Regions from separate parts of the Homo sapiens genome. Here region 2 is linked to region 1. Evidence: promoter capture Hi-C in 16 types of primary human blood cells and fetal thymus (Javierre and others, 2016). All regions are on one chromosome and are shown on one strand. The core of a region is centred on a gene start or on the middle of the fragment in contact, and the rest is flanking DNA. Distances in the headings are between cores, read along the strand shown.

Evidence for each region. Contacts are between HindIII fragments. The CHiCAGO score rates a contact against its expected background, and 5 or more counts as called.
Region 2: a fragment that was not itself captured here is called in contact with the fragment with the promoter of C2orf72 in region 1 in 3 of 17 cell types (M0 macrophages, M1 macrophages and M2 macrophages); the score reaches 6.1 in M0 macrophages.

The regions. Positions count from the first base shown.
Region 1 is chr2:231,033,362-231,039,652 of GRCh38, reverse strand. It overlaps C2orf72 (chromosome 2 open reading frame 72), which reads right to left and starts at 2,130. Exons shown (of 3, transcript NM_001144994.2): 1 at 1,454-2,130. The coding sequence starts at 2,087. The HindIII fragment of the contact is 4,632 bases long and covers 1-4,235 here.
Region 2 is chr2:230,894,989-230,901,279 of GRCh38, reverse strand. GCSIR (GPR55 cis regulatory suppressor of immune response RNA) reads right to left here. Exons shown (of 4, transcript NR_038238.1): 2 at 5,675-5,882; 3 at 4,190-5,321. Among named protein-coding and RNA genes, the nearest start is that of GCSIR, 12 kb to the right of the region's middle. The HindIII fragment of the contact is 2,050 bases long and covers 1,928-3,977 here.

The DNA.
Region 1 (6,291 bases), core at 881-3,380:
ATCACAGCCTCAACAAAAAAATGGATTGCACCCTAAGGGAGGAGGGTTAGGGCAGGCGCGCTCGCCCAGGCAGGCCAGGCTGGCAGGTGAATGTGACATTGGCAGCATCACAGGTGACAGGTCTCCTTGCTGGGACCCTCCGCCCCCCAACCAACGCCAATACTCCAGGAGACACACAATACAGCCACTTTCTTCATTATCTACTTAAGAGGAAGGGGCTGGAGGGCTTGAAGGGCTGCCCAGCTGGGCAGGGAGAGAAAGCTGGGAGCTGGAGAGTGCAAAGATCTCCCGGGTTTGCCAGATGCAGCTACTCTTTTTTTTTTTTTTTTTTAATACTTTAAGTTTTAGGGTACATGTGCACAACGTGCGGGTTTGTTACATATGTATACATATGCCATGTTAGTGTGCTGCACCCATTAACTCGTCATTTAGCATTAGGTATATCTCCTAATGCTATCCCTCCTCCCTCCCCCTACGCCACAACAGTCCCTGGTGTGTGATGTTCCCCTTCCTGTGTCCATGTGTTCTCATTATTCAATTCCCACCTACGAGTGAGAACATGCTGTGTTTGGTTTTTTGTCCTTGCGATAGCCAGATGCAGCTACTCTTAATGTGCATATTTTCATCCTAGAACATTGGAGAGTTCCTGTAAAGCCTTGTGTTCCAGGAGGAAGGAGATCCTGACCCTTCTGCTGATGGCAGCAGTCACGGGGGCTGGGAAAAGACCCTTAAATCCCTTCCACCTTTCAGGAGAATGTGGAGGGAAAAGGTGGCCTCAGCAGACCTGGGGGAGGCTGAGGGACACAGCAGTTGGGTGCACAGCCTTGGTGGGTGGCCAGAAATCAATAGAAAATGTACTCTTAGTCCCTCTCACCTCCCCACACGTCAAGTCCCGAGCACCCATTCCTTGCCCTCTTCCTAAAACCAGGCAGGGCTTCCAGGACGAGCCTCCACCGCGCTGGAGATGCCCCTCCGCCCCTCCTAGAGCTCCCGACGCATCTCTGGCTGCGCAGCGCCCTAGAATTTAGCTTCTGGCACCGCCAATCTCCTTAGCACCCATCCACCCCCTTGAAACTTTCCCATCCCAAGGCTTTCCCATTTCCTTCCCCACTCCTCTTCTCTCCCCACCCCCACCCACCCCGTAACTCCTAGATCTCGGCCTTGCCCGATTCATCCCTTCTCTCTACCCACTCCCTCTGCCTTCTACTCGGCCCCTCAGCTTTCCCACGCCCCCTAGGCATCTCCCGTGCACTCCGGACCCTTCCGGGACAGACTCGATCCGCTACGCACGGCCCGCTCTCCGCTAGCTGCGAGGCCTGGCTCTAGGCACCTCCCTGCTCTGAGCCTCAGTTTACCTCGGTGCTCAATAAGGGAATGGCCAAAGGGGTCCAACTTGGGGGACGTGCCCGAGCCACCGCCCGCCCGCGCCCAGCCGGGCCCCGCGCAGTCTCACCTGGTTGCCCGGCTCCGGCGGCTTGCAGGGCCCTGCAGGCGGCCGCCTGGACGGCCAGGCAGGAGGCCGGGAGGCCGGGGCAGTAGGCGGCCGCCTGCACGGGCCCCCCCGCCTGGCGGCCGAACACGGCGCGCAACAGCGCCTCCAGCAGCCGCAGCCCCGGCGCCACCGCGTCCTCTGGCCCGGCCTCGGCCACCAGCACCCCGACCAGCGCCGCCCCGGCCCGCCGCCGGCCGCGCACGTCCCGCAGCATCTCCCGCAGGCGGCGCCGCGGCTCCCGGGCGGCCAGCGACGACGCGCGGCACAGCACGAAGACCAGCGGCGAGCGGATGGCGCGCGCCGCCGCCGCCGCCGCCCCCGCCGCCCCAGCCGCCCTCGCCGCCCTCTGCGCCCCGCGCGCCGCCCCGGGCCCCGCGCCCTCTGCCGCCGCGCCGCCCGGCTTGGCCGCGCCTGGCTCCGGCGGGAACACCGCCCGTGCGAAGTCCCGCAGCAGCGCGCGGCTCTGTTCGCGCTCCCACAGCTCGCCCACCAGCAGCACCTGCCCGCGGCCCCCCGCCGCTTCCACCAACGCCTGGAAGGGCGGCTCGGCAGGGCGCGCAAGCCGGGCCGCCAGCGCCTCCAGCTCGCGCTCCATGCTGGCCGCCGCCCGCCCTCTGCGGCCGCCGCGGCCCGGGCGCACCCGCTGCCCGCCTCTCGGGGCGGTGGCGCCCCGGCACAGAGGACACGCCCCCGAGGGCCGAGCCCAGCCGGACCCCCGGGCCCCCGGGCGGGGCCTCTGTGTGCACGCGCCCCTGGGCGCAGCCCGCATCGCGGGCCCGGGTGGGAGGAAGAGGGCTTTCTCCTCAGCCCTCCAAGGGTGGCTCCTCCCGAAGTCCCTGCGCAGACGCGGGGAAACAGAGAGTCATTCATTCATTCATTTGTTCGTCCATCCCACACATACTTACTGCGCACCTACTATGTGCAGGCGCTGGGCAGCCGAGGTTGGGAAGACAGACAATTATCCCCTCACTAGATAAGATCGTTTGGAGACCTGGAGCAGAGTCCTGCACAGTTTGGGGTCTTGCCGAGGTGGGGTGGGAGGTAGGGGGGTAGGGGGCGGAGGGCGCAGAAGTGGGTAGGAAGGTGAGATAAAAGAGAACACGCAGGGGTTATTTCTGCCACCCAGCTTTCCTTTTGGGCTTCAACATTTAGCAAAAACTGACCGAGGGTCCATTATTTCCACAAATACTTATTGTACCACCCCAGGCGCTGGGGTTGAAACCCAGACTGTTTCCGTAAAGCAGAAAGTCTAGGGGGCCAGATGCAGGACACGGATGGTGCTCTGATCTGCGTGGGGAGCAAGGGGCCAGCCAGGTCAGAAGCAGGAATGCATTTCCCTTCCTTCTAAGGATCTAGGTCAGCCTTGTCCAATAGAACATTCTGTGATGATGGAAAACTTTTTTATTGTCTGCACCATATGTGACTATTATTGAGTACCTGAAATCTGGCGAGTGCAACTGAAGAACTGAGTATTACATTTCACGTAATTTGTAATGAAATGTAAAATTAAAGCAGAAAGTGACAAGATGATAATGTACTTAAAGGGCTGGCACCTTTCTCTGAATAGTACCCTAAAGACGCCGCAGAAGCAAGAGGGGAGTTGGTAAGGACTCTGAGAAACCAATGTAAAACCAGGGAAGGCCTGTCGCCTCCTCCCCTCAGTGCCATAGAAGGGGGATAGGCTGAGTGAACGCTATACACTTGTGCTCTTTTCTTTGCTTGCATTGGCCTGAGTAGACCATTTCTCAACCCCATCTCCCCAGCACTGCTGGGAGGCAGAAAACAGCTGTGCTAGCCAGGGATGGCATATCAGGCTGGGGCTAGCAGCACAGAAAAACCAGACCCGGCAGCCTCTTCTTCCCACTTCATGGGTCAGGAATTCCAACCACGAGACCTGCCTCATGAAAGAGGATTGGCCAGGGGAGAGTGCCCAGAAGCTCCCTGAGTGGGGTGTCTGGTGTGTGTGAGGGTGGCACATGGGGAGTGGCTACATTCACATTTGATGCCAGAGGCAAGTCCCATCACACCCCCATTCCTTAAGCTCCCAGGTGGGATATATAGGAAGAGCCTAGGTTTTAGTCTCTTCCAGGTGTACCTATCGCCAACCAAAGTAGCTGATATCTAGGGAAACATGAATTCACTGGGAAAAATAATTAGACTTCTGGGGCCGGGCGCTGTGGCTTGTGTCTGTAATCCCAGCACTTTGGGAGGCCAAGGCAGGTGGATCACCTGAGGTCGGGGATTGGAGGCCAGCCTGACCAACATGGAGAAACCCAGTCTCTACTAAAAATACAAAATTAGCCAGGCATGGTGGTGCATGCCTGTAGTCCCAGCTACTTGGGAGGCTAAGGCAGGAGAATGGCTTGAACCCAGGAGGTGGAGGTTTTGGTGAGCTGAGATCGTGCCATTGCACTCCAGCCTGGGCATCAAGAGCGAAACTCTGTCTCAAAAAATAAATAAATGAATAAAATAAAATAAAAAATAAAAAACAGTTAGGCTTCTGGAAAGTATAAAACAAAGCAGGTTTAATGGATATATGAATTAAGATTCATTTCTTAATAACACAGACAACACTAATAACAATGAAAATTTCTTTTTCTCTTTTGTAGACGTTTGGGGATGGACAGTTTATGGCTGAAATAGTATAATAGTTCTGCTTTACTAGGTGTTTGAAGACTCAGATTTCATACCAAGTCACTATTGCCCTCTGACATCTTCATAATCCAAATTGGCTGCTAAAGCTTGGGCCATCACACCTGTATTCCCAGAAGCTGGGTAGTAGAAGGACTGAGGAAGGAACAAAAATCTGGTTGACTTCAGATTTCTTAGCAACAACATTGGGTTTAAGAAAAAATGGAAAAATTGTTTTAAAGTATCAAAGAAAAATAACTTTGACCCTAGATTTGGATTTCTAGCTAAATTATCAGGTATATAAAGAATCAGAAGGCGTATCACATATAGCCCCTCTTTGAAAACACTATTGGAGGAAGTGCCCTATCAAAAAGGGAACTAAATCTGGCTGGGCATGGTGGCTCACTCCTGTTACCCCAGCACTTTGTAGACTGAGGCTGGCAGATCATCTGAAGTCAGGAGTTCAAGACCAGCCTGGCCAAAATGGTGAAACCCCGTCTCCAATAAAAATACAAAAATTAGCTGGGCATGGTGGTGTGTGCCTGTAATCCCAGCTACTTGGGAGGCTGAGGCAGGAGACTCGCTTGAACCCAGGAGACGGAGGTTGCGGTGAGCCAAGATTATACCAGTGTACTCCAGCCTGGGTGACAGAGTGAGACTATCTTAAAAAAAAAAAAAAAAAAAGAGGAACTAAGAGTGCTCAATAATAGCAAGTAAGAGGGATTAAATCACTTGTCTAAATAACAGTGCAAGGCCATGCCAGCAAAGCACAGCCTAAGTGGGTATAATAAACTGGGAGGGTGGGTGGCAGAGCCAGGGTGAAACCTACAAGTTGACCAGAAAGGGAATTAACCCCATCCAGGTCACCTCTGAGGAAGAGAGAAAGACAAGTTCTAGAGAAGCACTGTCAGGTATACTGGGATTTTTAGCACATTCTTACAAGGCTTGTCTAAAACCAACATGCTCTGCCTCCTGAACTATATATTCTCAGCCTCTAAATCTCCACAACTAATTACAAATTTCCATAGGCGGGATGCGGGATGGATCAGAGGGGGGTGGAATGTTAAACGAAGGTTGGAGTCCAGGGCCAGTAAAGTTTATCTTTATCTGTGTTATTTACACAGCAAAGGTTCTGGTATTAAATTAACAGGAAACTGCAAAGATCTTTTTTTTTTTTTTAAAAAAAGGCAAGATGCCAAGAATATTTCTTCCTCCTCTCCCACCGCACCTTAGAAAAACATCATAAAATTAATGGACTTCTTCTTTCTCTGGTGTTCAATGAAGATATAAAGTAAACTGGGATTTTTGAAATACTTTACCTCTTCATGTTCATTTAAACAGAATTTGGTGGGAATCAAGTGATAAGAGACTGGTGTGGTGGCTCACACCTGTAATCCCGGTACTTTGGGAAACTGAGGTGGAAGGATTTCTTGAGCCCAGGAGTTTTAGACCAGCCTGGGCATCATAGCGAGACCCCATCCCTAAATAAACAAACAAACAAAAATCAAACAGCTAGTTGGGTATGGCAGTGTGTATCTAGTCACAGTTACTCCTTGGGAGGTTGGGGTGGGTGGATGGCTTGAGCCCGAGAGGTCGAGGCTGCAGTGAGCCGTGATTGTGCCACTGCACTCCAGCCTGGGTGAGAGATCAAGGACTTGTCTCAAAAAAAAAAAAAAAAAAAAAAAAGTGACCAGAAAGTGTTGGTTTGGAAAACAAGGAGTAATCTCCCTCTAGTTGCTTGCCAGCTCCTTTTCCCTCTTTACTCACACTCTGTCACCCTATTCTCCTCTCCTTCTTTCTTCCTTTCCCCGCTTCCCCTCTCCCCACCTCCCCCTTTCTCTCTTCTTTCCTTTCCTTCCTCTCTTCTCTCCCTGTACTTTTCCGCTTTTTCCCTAAGATGTTTGATTTGGGGGCTAAAAGGAAGGCTGGACCTGGGGAGACTTTCTGGCTTCCTGGGGAGCTGGGTGGAGGGAGGAAGATCTTTAACATGAGGAAGACCTCAGAGGGAAAGGAAATTGGAGGAGCCCCCAGGACCCACGGAGGAAAGAGGCTGAGGTGGGAAGAGGGGCTGGAAACTTGAAACTGGGTCTAACAAGTGCTGGGTGCCCCTGAGGTGGAGCAGGCCTGCTCGCTGGTGTGCTGGGACTTCGTTTCCTCCTCTGCCAGGC
Region 2 (6,291 bases), core at 1,703-4,202, 140 kb after region 1:
CTTCCCAAGGCTGCACTGCATCTGAAACCAACCAAACCAGGTGAGGGGGTGGCATAAGGGAAGGAGCACTCCCTTGGCAGGATGGGGCTGGGGGGTGTTTCTGGTTGCTGTGCATTACCATCCATCTCCGTCACCCCTGGCCTTCAGGGAAGTCTCCCACCAGTTCTCCCTGGAGTCAGCTGTCCTTTATTGGAGAAAGAAAGGGGGAATGTGCTCCCTGTGGGCTCAGATACACGTGGAGGACAGTTCCTGTAGGACTCAGGGCTCAGAGGAGAATTTGGCAGTTTCTACGACTATGATGGGAGATGCTAGGGTTCCCACTGAATGTGGGATAAAATCACAAGCCCTTCTGCTTGGAGATTTAAAAAGGGGGGGTGACCCCATAAAGCTGGAGGAGTTGGGGCTAGAAACAGGTCTGTAACAAGACCTTGGCTTGAAGGGAACTATTGTGCAGACGTGGAAGCTGAGGCCCATGGGGGCATGAGCAGCACCAGCTCTCTGATGCCCTTGTAAGTGATTTTTGCATGGCACCCCATGCTAACACCCACTCTGGGTCTCTGTGTCCTGGCCCACCGTACCCACTCCAAAATCCTCTCAGGGCTCTTCAAAGATCCTGAGCCATCAAGGGGCGACCCATCTGCTCCCCAGTAGGGGCTGTCACAAGCCCACCCACTGGCTTCCACTACTCAATTGCACCTGGTCGAGAACAGGCTTATTCTCTCCTTGTCTGTTACACCTCATTTGGTCCTCCCTTGCACCGGTGTCCTAAGTAGAAATGCTCCTTCTTAATCACCTCTCACAGCAAGGTCTCGTGGCTCCCGTCCACCCTGTGTGCCTGGCACAGGCTGGGTGCAGAGCAGAGCTGATAAATACCTGGTGATTGACAGCTGCAGTCATCACCACTGCCCCAGCCCTCGCTTCAGACCAGGAAGCAACCGCAGGCTCAAAGACCCTGGGTCCTGGCCCCATAGCACCAGCTAATAATAACAGACAGCTAGGGGCTTGCTCCAAGCCCCTTATACCTGGCTGTGTGCAGAAGCCCTCTGGTAGGATTGATGATAATGCCGGGGTTCCTGGTGTGCCCCAATCACCAGTTAAGAAGATTCTCATATTTCTCTTAAGGTTCAACTAACAACTTTAAGTCCCTCAATATTATGAGAAGGGGCACTTGCAACTTAGATACAATTTCCAGTGATAGCATCATGTGGGGATTTAAAAAGTGCTGAATCTCTGTAACTGAGAGGAGACGGAGGTGACGTACCCTGAAAGTCACCGGTGACTCAAACCGTGGCTCAGGGGTGATGAGGAGACAGACACTCAAGATGCTGGTGACAGGTTGAGATGAAAAAATGTTCCATGAAATGTGAAAGTGGAAAGGAGTTACCTTCTGTGGAATTAAAAGATGTCTTGAAAACCAAATGCATTAACTCCTACAGGAGACATTTAAACAATTACATGCACAACCCTAATAGTTTGTATATTCAAGCTGGATCTTCTCACTTGGAAAAACAATCTCTTCTGTATGCGCATCTTCTTAATGGCCCACTGGGAAATGCCGTATACTCAGGGGTGCCCTGGGTTTGGGCATAGATGATGTACACCCCTAGTTCCTGGTGAAACCCAGGTCTGGGTGAATGGAGCAAATCCAGATCCTTCTAATGGGATAGGGAAGCAGACTGGCTCCTGTTCCCTGTCACTGAGTGATCCAAAGGACCAAGGCCAGGGACCCTTGCACCAAACCGTGCTGTCAGATTCTGTCTGCCAGCGGGGGAGCCCAGGGAAGCCCAGGGCCGCTGCAGTCACCTCCAGGCAGTGCACGTTGCTCAGCAACCTCTTTGCAACTGTGAGCTGCTCCACATCCCTGCGAAGAGCCTTCTTTTGCTTGAATTAGCTGGAGCTGGTTTCTCTTGCAGGGAACAAAGAAGCTTCCTGTTAGCAAAATGAAGTTTCCTGCTTCAGCAAGAGAAAGGCTCCTTATGGGGAGATGGGAGAGGGGAGTGGGAAGACAGAGGCCCTGGGTATGGGTGCTTGGAGATTCTCTCTTTCCTGGGGGTGAAGGGGAAAGGGAGAGGGAGATTGTATGGCCAGACCTCTTCCACAGCCTTAAAACAGGGATGTAAGCCCTTTTGACAATTTCACTTGAATTCCTTGGGAAATACCAGGTTAGGGTGTTTTCTTGGATGAAAACTCGGGTGGTGCAGGCAGCAAAGCCCATCATCGACGGCCCCAGGGAGCCACGTGCAGATTCTTCCCTTTCCTGCAGTGTGCCCTGGCCTGCAAGGCCCTGTCTAAGGACGCTGGGGTGGACTGAGGCTGCCACAGGAGGGCATGGAGGGTATGGAGGAAAAGGAAAGCTGCTTGATTCATCGGCATCTGACAAAGTGTTCTGTCTACACCATGCCTGCTGCACGAGGCACCTGGTCAGATGTTGGCCCTTGCTGCCCACTAAAGGTCAAAGAGGTGATGGGGATCCCCCTTCCCCACATCATCCCAGGAATTCTCTGACTGTCCTTGGGTCTCTCTGGGAAGACTTCTCGGAGCCCCTGGCCCCAGCTGGGGGTCCCTCCTCTGTGATCCCATGGCACCCTAACTTTCCACAAGGAACTGGGGTGAGTGAGGGTCTCTTGAGTGCAGGGAGCTCATTCAGGTTTATTATGGAAGCTGGGTGACAGTGATGGTTGCATGGTTGCACAACTTTATAAATTTTCTAAAAATTACTGAATTGTTAAACAAGAAAGAAGGAAGCAAAAGCTGTTTTGTTGAAGGATGTACATGGAAATAAAGAAGACAGGACTCTCAGCTCCGTGCAAGCCTGCCCGGGTCCCAGGACAGGCTCACAGCAAGACCTCCCGGGAGGTCCCCATGGGGCCTGGAACACGGCTCAGGTTTGGAAGGGCTTGAGGGTCCAGGGAAGTCTATTGGCTCTGCTCTATCCTTCCTGCCTTTCGGTCTCTGTCTCCTACCACCGTTGTCCCAGCTGGCGGCCACTATCTCTGCTGGCCTCTCCACCCGTGTCCATCACTGGCAGCCTGAGGATGGGCTACCTGTGAATCACGTGCTCCTCCCTGGTCCAGTCAACCACGGCGGAGGAGATGGGGCCATGTGAGATGCCGCCTATGGGGCCGCCTGGAGCTGCTACCTTCAGCAGGGGCCTGGCAGGTGCTCTGAGGCTTTGTGTGTTTTTCTCCACCTCTGTGCCAGGAGGCTGCTGCCCTTCAAGTCTTGTGGGGACACAGTCATGTCCATTCACACTGTCTGCAGTGGCTGCTTTGGAGCTACAGCAGACCACGGTAGTTATGACAGAGACTGTATGGTTTGTAAAACTGAAAACACTTGTAATCTAGCCCTTTGCAAAAAATTTCCCTAATGCCTGCTCTGAACTATAAACTCTTCAGGGAAGGGACTAGGTCTTGTTCATCTCTGGATCTTCAGAACTTAGCAGAGTGTCAGACACATAGTAGAAGCTCAATAAATTGTAGGAGCTCAATTAAATAGATAAATAGATGGAGTCTGGGCTGAATCTGTGCAGTCTATGTCCTTTACTTTAAAAAGAGGCTTCCCGGCCGGGTGCAGTGACTCACACCTGTAAGCACTTTGGGAGGCCAAGGTGGTAGGATCGCGTGAGCTCAGGAGTTTGAGACCAGCCTGGGCAATGTAGTGAGACCTTGTCTCTATTAAAAATAATAATAATAATAATAATAACTGGGTGTGGTGGTGTGCTTGTCATCCCAGCTACTTGGGGGGCTGAGGTGGGAGGATTGCATGAGCTCGGGAGGTTGAGGCTGCAATGAGCTGTGATCCTGCCACTGGACCCCAACCTGGGTGACAGAGCGAGACCCTGTCTCAGAAGGGAAATAAATAAAAGGGGGCTTCTCCTAGACAACACTCTCCTCCTGCTCCTGCTCATTGAACAAGGTGACCAAATGTCCCAGTCTGTCCAGGACTGAGGGAGACCAAGGCTACTCAGTGTTAAAGCTTGGAAAGTTCCAGGCAAACTGGGATAATGTGGTTCCTTATATTGGATACCTGGCCTCTCTATATGTTGAAGCAGCTGCCTACCTCATTTGGGCAATGAATCCACTGTAGTTAGCCAGGTAGAACCATGTGTGCCTAGTAGAAATAGGAATACACATAATCAGCTGCATAACAGATTCAAACAACATAACAGTGTAAAGGAGCAAGGCAGTACCTGGTGGTAGCAGTTGTGCTGAGGATTCTGGGTGTTACCAGTGAAGCGGGTAAGATCTCGTGGGGCTGGGATGATGGAGAAAGGCTTTCTGGGAAGCTGGAGTCCACTCAAGTCTTGATTGGATGAGACAGAATCATCTCTGGCAGAGAAGGAAGGCAGCGACCTTACTGGTGCACGAGGTCCCTGGTGTCCACGTATCAGTCCCCAGGGAAAATTCGGATTGGTCACATGTCATCTCCTGAGCCAAGTTCTGTGGCCAGAGAAATAAGGCGCCGACTGGCCAGTCAGGATCACACGCCCATCTCAGAGGCATGTTGGGTGCTGACTGTGGTACTAAGAGGATCCCGTGAAGTGGAAGTGGAGCTCTGGAAGGAACTCAGCATGGCTTGGTTTGGGTTTCTTGGAAAGCAGAGCGGGAAACAAAGGCTCCTGTGCCCCTCCTTTGGTAGGGAGGTGACCCCAGGGAGCAGGTGTGAGAGAAAGGGGAGTGTAGCTGGGAAGGAAGTGGTGCCAACTCCAGGGTGTGTTATGGAGCTGGCCGAGGCTTGGTAACAAACATAACTGCTTGCTCGACCCCAAGGGCCATCCTCCGGGAAGCTGCACAAATGTTTCTCGGCACAATCCTTTTGGGAGAAAAGGAGAATAATTTGTGCACAGGCTCCCAGCTCGCGTTGGGTCGCCTGAAGGGTATTAATTGCCTCTACTTGCTGGTCGTGGATGGATGGATGCAGTGTCTCCCATCCTAGTATCCAGGCAAGCCTAAGGGGTGCATAGCTGGGACCTGAGGCAGGGGCTGCTGGGTGTGCCTGGGTGAAGCCTGTCTGAGTCCATGCAGAGTTGGTGGTCTCAGCTGTGGCTGGGGCCAGTGGCCAATGGCCCACAGATAAGTGAGAGGGTCCAAAGTAGCACATAAGAAGTGTCTCACAGAAAAGGAACTTGAGAGCATGGGGTCAGATAAAACTGAGTCACCACTGTCCTCCTCAAGAACACCTGGTGTCCACACCTCTAACCAGGGCTTCCTGGTGTTTGCACAAAGAGATTATCAGGTGGCCAGGAACGATCAGACTGGAGCAGTCATTGGGTGGAGGGAAGGTCAGCTGTCCTACTGAGATCCAAGGACAGTCCTTAGCCCCTGCTAAAAGGAAGAGGTGGAATTAGTTAGTCCCCTCTGTGGAATCCAGAAAACTCCTCTAAAAGTTGCTCAGCAAATATTTAATGAAGCTGAACAGAAGTCATAAACCCCAGTTCCCTTGTTTTCTTGCCTGTAGTGGAGTTTCTGACACAGCCAAGGGTGTGGATGTGGGTGGAGCTCCAAGGTCAATCAGCGTGGTTTGAAATTTTGCCAAAGGACCTGGAGAGGGTGGCAAGCTGCTGGGTGGCAGAACATCACGGAGGAACCATGTCCACCCAGCCCCAGCCCCCAGCCAGAGAGGGACGAGGAATGTGGCCTCAAGCCTACACCGTGCAGGAGTCTGTCCAGCTTACCGTGTCCTTGTCAAGCCCCAGTCCTCCTCTCTCTGCAGGAGCCAGAAGGTCATAAATCCAAGGAGCCCAGTCCCATTTCTTGGCCTTCAGGGCTGGGGAGGGAGAGGGTGACCCTTGGTGGCTGTTTATGGGGCCGGTCATCATCTACCTGAACGGGAATAGTCAATTCTTCTGCAGTCTGACGGGAACATTGCCAAGGTCAAAAAACCTGTGAAGACATTGGCCTTGGTGGCACAGTATGACATTTATTTATTTATTTACTTATTTATTTCTTTATTTTGAGATGGAGTCTCCCTCTGTCACCCAGGCTGGAGTGCAGTGGCTCTATCTCGGCTCACTGCAACCTCTGCCTCCCAGGTTCAAGCAATTCACTGCCTCAGCCTCCCGAGTAGCTGGGATTACAGGCGCCTGTCCCACACCCAGCTAATTTTTTGTATTTTTAGTAGAGACGGGGTTTCACCATCTTGGCCAGGCTGATCTTGAACTCCTGACCTTGTGATCCACCCATCTTGGACTCCCAAAGTTCTGGGATTACAGGTGTGAGCCACCACGCCCGGCCTAGTATGACATTTAATATGAATTAAACACATAAGTCCCCTTGTTTGCTTGGTTGGTCT